Regions from separate parts of the Homo sapiens genome. Here region 2 is linked to region 1. Evidence: promoter capture Hi-C in 16 types of primary human blood cells and fetal thymus (Javierre and others, 2016). All regions are on one chromosome and are shown on one strand. Each heading gives the region's core, a stretch centred on a gene start or on the middle of the fragment in contact. The rest is flanking DNA. Distances are from core to core; before and after follow the strand shown. Region 1 holds the start of LINC00466 (long intergenic non-protein coding RNA 466). Region 2 has its middle 5.7 kb from the start of NFIA.

The links. Contacts are between HindIII fragments. The CHiCAGO score rates a contact against its expected background, and 5 or more counts as called.
Region 2: a contact is called between a fragment that was not itself captured here and the fragment with the promoter of LINC00466 in region 1, in 1 of 17 cell types (total B cells). The highest score is 5.3, in total B cells.

What each region holds. Positions count from the first base shown.
Region 1 is chr1:63,313,740-63,319,765 of GRCh38, forward strand. It overlaps LINC00466 (long intergenic non-protein coding RNA 466), which reads right to left and starts at 3,518. Exons shown (of 12, transcript NR_038252.3): 1 at 3,319-3,518; 2 at 2,210-2,348. RefSeq lists a silencer at 3,664-3,843. The HindIII fragment of the contact is 23,330 bases long and covers 1-6,026 here.
Region 2 is chr1:61,073,804-61,079,911 of GRCh38, forward strand. It overlaps a transcript of NFIA not described here. Among named protein-coding and RNA genes, the nearest start is that of NFIA, 5.7 kb to the right of the region's middle. The HindIII fragment of the contact is 3,593 bases long and covers 688-4,280 here.

The DNA of each region.
Region 1 (6,026 bases), core at 2,268-4,767:
ATAATTTGAGTAGTCATGTCTATGACTGAGGAACAAGGGACTAGAGAGTGTTTCTCCATCTGTAGTCTCCTCAATTGATGATAACACCATTTCTTCTAGACATGCAAATTTCATATCTGGGAGTTACTGTGAAATCTTTCTCCCTTAGCAATCAGACACTTAGTTCCATCCATTTTACTTCTTCAGTCCTCTCAAAGTCATCATCATCTCCTCTTCTCCAGTCTCACTGCCAATAATTTAAATCATACCTTCTTCATCTCTTACTAAGATAACGAAATAGCCTCCTTGCTATCTCCAGTCTTTTACTCCCTCAGTTTATCCTTCACATTCCCGCAAAGAATAGTTCCAAAATTTTATTTCAATCATGCCAATCAGTTAAAGACTTTACTGGCTTCTTAATAACTTTGGGCTCTTCAGCCCAGTATTCAAGAGTCTTTATTATTTTACTCTGGCCATTCCCTTATCTCATTTCAGTTAAACCAAACTATATGCTGCTCCTCGTGTCTTGCATAAATCTGTGTCTTTACTCGTGCTGTGTTCTCTTTCTTTTCCCAGAACTCTGTTCCTCTTTTTCTTTACCTAACTGCTGCTTATCATTCACAACAGCTCAAATATTATTTCCTTTTTTTTTTTTGAGACGGAGTCTCGCTCTGTAGCCCAGGCTGGAGTGCATTGGGGCAATCTCTGCTCACTGCAAGCTCCGCCCCCCGGGTTCACGCCATTCTCCTGCCTCAGCCTCCCGAATAGCTGGGACTACAGGCGCCGGCCACCACGCCCGGCTAATTTTTTGTATTTTCAGTAGAGACGGGGTTTCACTGTGGTCTCGATCTCCTGACCTCGTGACCCGCCCGCCTCGGCCTCCTAAAGTGCTGGGATTACAAGCGTGAGCCACCGCGCCGGACAGTTCAAGTATTATTTCTTAGGGAAACCTTCCTACCCACCTATTCTCTTTCCCAGGCAGAGTTAGTTATGTTTCTTTTGCGCTCCTGTAACATTCTATCATATATTTATAACTCATCACACTACATTTTAGCTATGGACTTCCCTGAATAAGTCCCCCATTAGAGTGAGAATGTGTCTTACTGATCGGGTTATTCAAGCAATATTTATTGAGCCACACCTCCACCCCTACACCACTAGTACTTGGCTGGAGGCTAGGGATACAACAGTGAACAGATAAAAATTCCTGCCCTTCTGGAATTAACATTCTAAAGGTGGAATCTATCTTCTTACTCACCTTTGTGGTTCCAGTGTCTGGCCCTTGATGAATACGATAAGGTTAGAAAAACAGCTGGGTCTAACAACTAGCCTTTTGAATATTTTCTTTTCAAAGGATCTTTTCCTTTATCTACGTTCCCTTTTAAATTTCTTCCATGTGTTTGTTAGTCAAATACTTCCATGTAGTCTAAATGTACTATACCTAGACAAAATGTCTAAGCAAATTTCAATTTTTACATTTCCCTTCTCTCTTCTTCCATCCCTTTCTGTTTCCTTATCATACATCTATTGTCCATTTCCCTTGAGACCAAGTACTTTCTGGCTGTCCAGAAGTACCATTAGGCATCCAACTTAGCACTTTCTTTTCCCAAAGTATCCCGGGTTCTAACTTACTTCTCCCCAATCTCCCCTGAAAACCCCTAAAGTCAGAGGTAGCTGGTCAGTAGCATCTTCCGTATTGAAGGCTTCACACTTTCTCTATCCCTACCCAGTGAGAAAGGCCCTCCTCTGCGCTGTTTCCCCTTGCCATGGCACCTATCAACCTGCATGACAAACACTGATTCTCTTGCCTGGTTCTTCCTTAAGGAACCTTGGGTTTAATTCTTCTTTTCATTCCTGGTACTTTCCAGGTCTACAACAGTTCAATAAATTACTAATAAGGAATAAATGAGTAAATAAATATATATTGTATACTTATATATCCTCTCCCCCTGAATTCAGCTGTGGGTATGACTTAAATCCAAGAAATTTTGGATTAAAATGAGAGTTACCAAAAAAGGCAGCTTTGACCCAAGGAAAACTTGTTTCTTTAAAAATGTTAGAAGAATTTAAATTTTTAAAATGTGTTTTGGCCTGGCAGGATGGTTCACACCTTTAATCCCAGCACTTTGAGAGGCTGAGGTGGGAGGATCGTTTGAGGCCAAGAGCTTGAGACTAGCCTGGGCAACAGAGCGAGATCCCATCTCTACAAAAAATAAAAATAAAAAATTACCTGGGTGTGGTGGTGTGCATCTGTACTCCCAGCTACTCGAGAGGCTAAGGCAGGAGGATCACTTGAGCCCAGGAGGTCGAGGGCTGCAGCCATCTACAATTGCACCACTGTACTCCAGCCTGAGACACAGAGTGAGACCCTGTCTCAAAGAAAAACAAAAAAATGTGTTTCGATATCCGCGATCCATGTCACATCTGTTAGTGTACCTTTAGTACATGACTTCTGCATTGTTTGCTAACTGACATTCTGTGTGAATAAAGCGTGTATCACAATGGTGTTTCCGTATGTTATCCAAGTGGGTCCTTTCCCCAGGATGTGAGTGAGCCTTTGGCATGGTCTTTTTAAGATTTTGCCAAGGGAAGACTGGGCTGGAACTAAGGAGCTAACATACCATTGAAATCAAATATCCCGTTGGGTGCACTGGAGGGTAGAGAAGAGGGGATTCCTGCACTCACGCTAAATGATAAACTTTTCCAAGGGCAGGGTCGTGAGAGGTCTTCCAGGTCACCTAGTGTTCTGAGTCATGCAGAAGTAGGAAATGGACACAATACTCCCCGCAGAGAATCCTTCCCACAGGACTGATCCTGTCCCTTCCTCCCCTCCCCCGCCCCACACAAGGCGGAATCCCCACGCAGTGCACTGCAGGCGCGGTGGCCACTGCCCCTAGAACCAGATCTCTCCCCCAGTCCCGTCCTCTCCAAGCTCCAGATATGTCAAGGATTCTTAAGCAGGGGTTTTCCAATCTGTCCCTTGAGGAACTACCCCTGAGGCAAGGCGGGCAGGCCCAAGCTGCGATGTGGAGAATTCGATGTCCGAGCGACCTCCTCGGAGGAGTGGGTCGAGTTAAATATAACCGCGCGAATGGAATGGCGCTAAAAATAAGGCAGCAGCTGGCCTGTCCACAGCCCTGTCCCGGGAGGGGCGGGGGCCCCAGTGGTCTTGGGCAGGAAGGCCGCGTCCGGCCCAGGGGCGAGAAGGCTGCGGCGTCCGCAGCCAGGGCTGGAAGGCCTGGGAGGCCGCGCTCTGTGGGCCCCGGGGCCTCCATTCGGGCTGGGTCGCGGGCCTGGACGGGGACTGTCCAGAGGCATCCGAAAGCCAGGCCAACTTGCCTGGACGTAACAAGACGGAAGGGCTGGGCGCTGAGGTCCTGCCAGCCCGGCCGCCAGAGGGAGCTGAGCGCCAGAGGAGGACAAGCCGAACCCTTCAGGAGGCCGGGCGTCTCCGGAGACCGAAGCGCCGGAGGACCCGAGGAGGTCTGCCCCGCGCGCTGCTCTGGAGACTCCCGGGGCGGGTGGCGCTCGGCCTTTCCGCTCCCTTCCTTCCCACAAGTCCCTTCCCGCGCGCGCCCCACGGCCCTGCCCGCCCTCCCGCGTCAGCGCCCCAACCGTCAAGCCAGCAATTGAAACGTTTCCAAAACGGTCTATTTATTTGCTCCCAATAAATCGATCGGCGGTGATTAAAGAATCGATGTGGCCTGGGTGGGCGAGTCGCTTGAGGGGAGGGATTGGGGGCTTTCGCCCGGCGCCTGCAGGGAGGCCGAGGGCGGGCGCGGGCCTGAGGGAGGCGTGTCCCGCCCGGGCCACACCCGAGGACCCGACACCTGGGCTGGCAGGCCCCGGCAGGCAGCGTTCCCTCCGGCGGAGAGGGGCGCGCGCCCGCCGCCTGCTTTCCTCGGCCCCTCTCGCCTTTCTCGCGCGCCGGGGAGGCTGTGGCCGCCAGTGGCTGCGGAGCTGCTCAGAGGCTTTTGTTGCTCCTCGGCCGGCTGAATGGGGATTTTGTAAAGCGGGACAGATAAAAATGAGCAGCATCATATTGTTTGACAGAATGATCTCGCATGATGAAGTGTCGGCTCCGAAGGGGGTGAAAATGGTGAATTCCTAAAAACCCAGCCCTGGGCTCCTCCTCGAGCTGCCGGTAGCCTGGAGGGACCCAGCGGACAGCCGGGCCTGGCCGCATCGCTCCAAACGGTGTCAGAAAGACTCCGGCTTTCAATGCCAAGTCATTTTTAAGCCCCGATCCTGTCCAGGACCTTTCTCCTCGTGGATGAAAAGAACAATTTTCGAGAGAAAGGCTCGTTTTTATTAAATCCGACATGCTGCTGATAACTCCATGCTAATGTGAAATAATTAACATAATAGCCATAATTAAAAGCACGCTAACAATGCCATAAATTTATCACACAATTTTACTAGCTTTCTGCCCCTAACTGCTCTCTCATCGTTAATTAAACGTGTTGCCTTTTACAGAATGGATGTTTATATATTTCCAATATAAATAAATTCGAAACCATCCTCTCTCTCTTCCTCTTTCTCTCCTCCTTTCCTTTTGGTCTCTCGCCATTTACAGGCACGCCTTGGCGTGGACCCTGAGTGGCAGACATCTTGAAAATAAATGAAGTTTTGAGATGCAAATCCAAACAAGAACATTAAAATAGCCTCTTTTTTTCCACCCCGAAAAGATCCGGAGAGGTATACAAGGGGGTAGTGGTGGGTAAGAGAGTTGAAAATCCCCCGCTTTGGGAAATGGAAGTAATCTGGGTGGGTTGGGGCCTTGGGTACCACCTCTGCCCTTTCCCACCTTCCTTGGTGGCGGCCATCCAGACAAAGAGGCCGGTAATAGTTTAACAAATCTATGAAGATTTTCAAGAAGCAGCAGACTTTGATTGTTGCGGGCGCGGGGGTGTTGGGGAGAAAGGAGGGGAATTTTTCTAATAGTCCCACCCACGTTTTGCTCCCTCTTGGACAAAGAGTAACTACTCTTGGTGGGGGACGCGCCCTTCACTCCGCGGAACCTGGTCCCAACTCCCCGTATTGTAAGAAAAGTGCACCCGCGCGCGGGCATGATGATTCTATCTCACATCGCGCCAACGACTTATTCAAGCCACTGGCACTGTCTCTGACTTAAAAGAGGAGAAAAGAGGCATATGGGTTCACTTGGGCCTGGTGAGGGGTAGGTGGGCAATTCCCGCCTTCCGCACTCTAACCGTGCCCCTCCTCCAGTGTTGACCACCTAAGAACCCAAAATGAGCTGTAATTAATTTCCCTTTCTCCATCATAAATTTTTCTATCCATTTCTTCCCCCCCATCCCCCCACTGGACGCACACACTAAATCTCCCCTCCCCTGGAGACGTCTCAATTTCCTTCCTATCGATCCGGACTCCATTCTTCTTGCCTCCTGTTGCTAGAACCTAGATCCCCACTCCCCGCACCCCTCATTCCCACCGCGTCCAGGTGGCTTTCCCAGCGGGGTACCATGTACTCTGCCCGCTCCAGAGGAACCGAAGGGGTTTCATTCCATTCTCCTTTGGTTGAAACATTTCAAACATTTGAGCAGGTGAGGCAGCTGGCTGCCATCTTCCTTTTTAAATCTCTCCTGGGAAGTTCGCTTGTTGAGACTCAAAGAGTCACTCAAACTCATAATTGCGTGTGTGTGTCTACTCATTCTCCCTCTATCTCTCCAATAACCCTTTGAGACTCAGAAACTTTTTATCCACATACACCCTTTATCACATTTTCTTCCCCCCACTACATGTGTCTCACTTTCTCTCTGTATCTGTCTCGCTTCTTCCGTCTCTGTCCTACAGCTTGGCGGTAACTGACGACCTGTGAGCTTTTAGCTGCAAACTGCAACTACGCGGCAAACAATTTATTTAGCCCGACATCTAGCCGGTCTCCGGCAGGACCCTGCACCGCGTCGGGATCGGACCCTTCCGCTGGGGCGGCCTCCTGCGTCAAGGCCAGCAGGAACCTTCCTGTCGCCCTCCCCGGCCGCCGCTTCGCCTCCTTCCCGCCCCCGGAGGTTGTGCAGGCGCTATGG
Region 2 (6,108 bases), core at 1,234-3,733, 2.2 Mb before region 1:
GCCTATAATATTCAGTAGAGTAACCTGCTGTACAGAGCTGAGCCTAGGAGCAATAAGCTATACCACATAGCCTAGGTGTGTATAAGGTTATACCATCTAGGTTTCTGCAAGTATACTCTACGATGTTCTTACAACGACTAAATCGCCTAACAACGTATTTCTCAGAATGTATCCCTGTCATGAAGTGACACATGACTATACAAGCTAATCCTAACTAGACAACTAGCCACAATTGAATACATCCCCATTCTTTGGCCTGTTGCATACACTGACATCATTGCGTTTTCCTGGAGAGGAATGCCCTGCCCCTCACCTGTCTACCTGACTAATGCATATTTCTGTCCCAACACAAATGTCTCTTTTTTAGGCCTTAATGACTGTCTCTGCCTTAATGACCCAGACAAAATGAATCATTCTATCACCACTGCCCATTTTATACATATATATGTGTGTATATATATATATATATATATGTTGGACATAACGCTTATTACATTACACTATTAGTTAGCTTTATGTCTTATCTACCCCATTGCACTGAAAGCTTGTTAGAGGCAGGGATAATGTCTCATTCTTTGCTGTATCCCTAGCTCTTAGCACCTTCAATGAGCCTATATTGAGCACACATAATGTACTAGTTAATTTACATATGTTATCTATCTCCCATTTTCCAGATCAGAAATCTAAAGCTTGCAGAGGTTTTGCCTGAAAAAAAAAAAAATACACATGGTAGAACCAACATTAAAACCTAAGTTGAGGCCAGGCTTGGTGGTTCACACCTGTAATCCCAGCACTTTGGGAGGCCGAGGTGGGCGGATCACAAGGTCAGGAGATTGAGACCATCCTGCCCAACATGGTGAAACCCGGTCTCTATTAAAAATACAAAAATTAGCCAGGCATGGTGGCGGGTGCCTGTAGTCCCAACTACTGAGGAGGCTGAGGCAGGAGAATCACTTGAACCCAGGAGGCAGAGGTTGCAGTGAGCCGAGATCGCAGCACTGCACTCCAGCCTGGGCAACAAGAGCAAAAACTCTGTCCAAAAAAAAAAACCTAAGTTGGACTCTGAAGCCAATGCTATGTTGTCAATGCTATGTTGTTGTTGACTAGATGGAGATATAAAAGGTCACTTTGGAAATGGTGCCAACCTACCATATCAAACTGAGTTAATGCACTACAGACAATGCACACAAAATTCACTGTTACCACCTACTTACAAGGCCTGGCCTGCTTAGCATCAGAGATTATTCAGACCATAGTATCTACAGAGCAATGCAGTACAGGTTGACACCTCTTCTGCATCTCAACGGTTCTTACCTTTTGACAAAACCTTCCACTCTCACAATAGGTTGATGTCTTGTTTTACAGGTGTTATGTAACCATCTCAAGGTCACACAGTCTAGTACCAGCTAAACCAGGCCCAAAACTTTTTTTTTTGGTTACTTAAAAAAATTGTTATTATTATTATTATTGTATTTTTAGTAGAGACGGGGTTTCACCATGTTGGCCAGGCTGGTCTCGAGATCCTGACCTGGTGATCCACCTGCCTCGGCCTCCCAAAGTATTATTTTTTATTTAAACTGAAGCCGCTACATCACATCAAGTGTATTTCTAGGTGAGAGTAGTACACCAAGTGGAAATGGATGCTCAGTGGAGGAGGCTAGGATTAAATGCCACAGGCTTGCTACAGCCAAGAGCATATCTGCATCTATGAGGGGCAGACCAGAACAGCAAAGCTAATGCCAAGGCCAGCCACAGTACGGCTACATCAGTCGACTAGTTGTAGAGAGCAAGACCGAAGCAAAAAATGTGATTCAACATAAAATATGAGGTTTCTCTAACCTCCAATTTAACTATGCAAGGTCCTGTTATTAATTAATTAGGTACCTTCACCAAGGACAGTTAAGAAAATCAGACAACTGCCAGGTTGCTTCCTATTACTCTTGACTTCTTACTGGATACTTTTAATCAAGCCAGGTAAGCACACGTTTTCCTCTAAGTTATTCAGCAAAATGTCCTATGCTCCTTAACTGACTCAAAGCAAACACAATTTTTTTTTTTTGAGACAGAGTCTCGCTCTGTCACCAGGCTGGAGTGCAGTGGTGTGATCTTGGCTCACTGCAACCTCCGCCTGCTGGGTTCAAGCGATTCTCGTGCCTCAGCCTCCCAAGTAACTGGGATTACAGGCACGCGCCACCACACCCGGCTAATTTTTGTAATTTTGGTAGAGACGGGGTTTCACCATGTTGGGCAGGATGGTCTCGATCTCCTGACCTTGTGATCCGCCCACCTCGGCCTCCCAAAGTGTTGGGATTACAGGCGTGAGCGACCGTGCCCAGCCAGCAATCACATTTTTAAAAACAACAACGAAAACCGCAGTAGCCTGGTTGTGTGCTTTCCATTTAAAGAGATAACTCCCTCCCTTCAGAGTCTTATTTCCTTGCTCTGCACCAATGGCTATTTTGTTGTTTAAAACAAACACTTAAACTGTTGACATTGAAATATCCAGACTACATGGTCTTAAAGAGTCTGGGTTAATGAAATAAGGTGAGTCAGTGAGATGAAGGACTTAATGTTCCAATAATTATCTTTTAAAACCCCCCTTTTAAATGTCAAAACTCTTACAGCTCTTCTCTTAGGGGAGTAGGAAGGGGAGGGGTCTCCTTTAATTTTGTGGAACCCAGGTTTTGTAAGGATATTGACAAATTAGATGCTTGGCAATTAAATTAGAATTTCACCGTATCTCCTGCCTTAAAAGAACAGCTTTATTCTTGAGGGAGCCCACCTAACAATTTTATGTTCAGTCATCTGCAGAGAATAGAGCCACTGTCTTTTTCTTTCCTAACCTAGGGTAGACGCTTTATTTCACTGCAAGTTCCCTGTGACATTTTGCACTCTCTTGATTTAATGCACCAAAGAGGATCTTTAACTCTTGGTCTACACTAGTGCAAATAAAGGTTAAATCTCTCACTAACCATCATGAACTAGCCTAATAACTCACGAGAGGCCCTGGAAAAAGAAACCGAGAGAGCAGGTGTGCAGACTTGATTAAAAGGTGCAAAACCCGCACAACCGCAGGCAAAGGTACTTTATCCTCACGTTGCCCAGTACCGGCTGCGAGGTGCGCAAGCAGGGGAACTTGTACTGCGCCAACAGAACGATTCCGAGAGCCGGGCCTAGTAACACAGGGGCTTTTCTTCAGAACGGTGTCCAGACCGGAGCTTGCGCCGAATGTAGGGGCTCCTATTGGCCACGCGCCGTAGGGGAGGAGACGACTGGCGGGGAGACAGACTGGAGGAGGGGAGAAGGGGGCAAGGCCTTTTCCCTGCCCCCTCCCTGCCCCCTCCGCCGCAGGCTGCCGCCGGTACCTCGTGCGTGGTTACTATGCAAATTGCAGCGATTGCGGAAATAAACAAGGGAGTTGGGAGAGGAGAGAGGGACTGCCGAATCGATTGCAACTTCTGCAAAGTCTCGTACAATCCAAAGCACGCAAGGCAAAACCAGAGCGAATCTGAGAACCAGCCAGCCCGGGTTGGATCGCTTTCAAAAGAGAGAGTGAGAGCGAGCGAGCGAGCGAGCGAGAGCGAGACAGTGAGAGAGGGAGAGAGCGCGCCTTGCAATTGCAAAAGCCTTCTGATTTGGAGTTAAAAAAAAAATTCTCCAAGAAGCCTGCAATTGGCCAACAGCTTTTTAAAAAATCTCTTCCGGGTTTTCAACGGTTCCAAGTTTATTTAGATATTTTTTAAATGCAAAAAAAAGGGGACAACAAATGAAGCAATTCGTCTGAGCATTTTAAAGTTTCTCACGTACTCTTTTTACATTGCAATGGTACGTGGTACATCTTAAACTTTCTATTTTGCATTTATATGATATGCGTTTTATAAACAATGGTAGAATGATTTTGTTTAATGGCTAAGACTAAAATTTCTCTAGCTCGCATATGCACTTAAGTGATTGCTGGGTAAATGTCTATTGTGATGGTTTTGTTTTAAAGATGTAGCTTTGTTGATGGTGTTTTTGCTATGTGCATCAGAGACCGGGTTTTCTTTTTCTTTTTTTTTTTTTTCGGGATTTGAAAAAATTGCTGAGCTTGACAGATTTTTTTTTCCTCCTAGCGCTTGCTCGGTTCCAGAAAGGGGTGGGGGGAAATCCTGTACGTGCTCTGTTCTGTAAAAGACGTCTGGCCTCAGCAGTCAACCTAACCCGAAAAGAAATGTCTGGACCCGGAGAATAATTGACGATTTGATCCTCTAATCAATGGGACAACTTGGGAGATTGACAAAAGCTTTATCCAATCATAAGGAAGCTTGGGTGTACAATAGTTCTCAATAGCCAGAGGGGGCGGGGCAGAGGAGATCTGAAGTTCTCTGCAGCTCTGAAGGGGATGGTGTGGTTCAAGCTGTCAAAGCTACAAGCGCTTCCGGATTTAGCAAGCACAATAGGAAAGAATTTTCGCGTTTAAGAAAAAAAAAAAAGCTGATCGGGGGAGTTTTGCATGAATCGTGTGCCTTCTTCCTTGTCTTTTGGAAAAAGAAACATTCTGCTAGAGAAATAACTTTGTATTGTTATTAACTTTGCATTAGCTATTATTTTTATGCTCAGGGAAGCTGGTAACTTGTGGAATGTGAAGTTCAACTTTAAGAAACGTGTGGCTTAAATCTTGCCTGAATTGTGGGACTGTAGTGAGCTTTGGGAAGTAATATATTGCGTATTCAGCATTACAAAACTTCTTACTCTGATTATCTTAGAAGCTTTGGCATTTCAAGTACTTTGAAATTAATAGGTAAACCTCTCTTCTTGAACTCTAAACAACAGTTTTAAAGGAGAGAATGTTTCACATGTGGACTAGCAGCTGTCTTACACACTTGAAAGAAATTAGGGGAGTGTTTTTTCTTGGCTATTCTTGAATTCTGCTTTTTAAGTATATGGTCAGTAGGAAATAGGACGTTAAGACTGGCCAAGTTCACGTTTCTCCTTGTTACCACAACAACCCCCGTGGAGAGTGTATGGAAGATCGCTGACTTGCTAACTGTTAGTTGGAGTCTGGCCTCTTGGACAAGTGCTTGATACAAATCCAGTGGAAACCAACTGCAGTAGCTTGTCTTGGAGACAGTAACTGGCAGCCTCTGACTAAAATATCTCCATCTCCTCCTCTCTGAGCAGCGTAGACACCCAATTCTGTTGGGAAGTGAATGGAAAATAATATGGGCTCTTTCCCTTCTTTGGATTAAATTCCCATCGAGCTATTTCCCAAGGCTTTAGGCCTTCCAGTCAAATCTGGCTTGGAAATTTGATGTAAGAATTCACTTGGACACTCACTTCAGCAACATGATTCAATTTAGGATTATATGCACATAAGAAAAATCTGCACAGAAGTGACCAGCAGGTCAAAAACCAGAGAAGAAAAAATGTTGAAAAATGCCAGTTAATAAAGTTAGTTTTGGTAAGAACTACAGAGTTATGGTGTTGTCGCTTATGAATCCCAGTCCTATCTTCACTGCTTTGGGTATTAAAATCTAAATCATATTAATAAGATCTCCCTATTAAGTAACCTCCAAAATGAGAGCTATTTGAGATGTACATATAAGTGAAACCTTATTGACGTAATTTATATATCTAAGAGGATTTCACTAAAGCTGGCAAGGTAACGTTTCTGCAAATAAAACACAGTAAATGCAAGGCTGGGCTCTGTGCCAGGAAGAATATGGATAGCAGAGAGCATGACAGGAGCCTCCTTTGCGCAGAGACAATCCCATTTCAAGGCAGCCTCCTACCACTTGGAAAATAAATGATTGGAGAGGTTATTTCCAATAAGGGGTTTATCCTTCCTAACAATGGGTCATTTATATGATTGCAGTGAACTAGTTTCCATACTTCACCTGCGTTTCCTCCACTGCTCTCTCTACTATCCTTTCTTTCTTCCCTCCTCCTCCATCCCTGCTCTCTCTCAAGTGCCTTAGTATCTTTGTGAACTCTGGACAAGGATTTACTTTTGCAACTTGGGAAGAGGGGAGAGGGTTGGAAATGTTTTTTACCCCCAGTCTGCCCTTTGAGGAACATCTGTTTCTTTGTGCGTGTGTTTAAATTTATGCCTGTTGGAGAGAAAGTTAC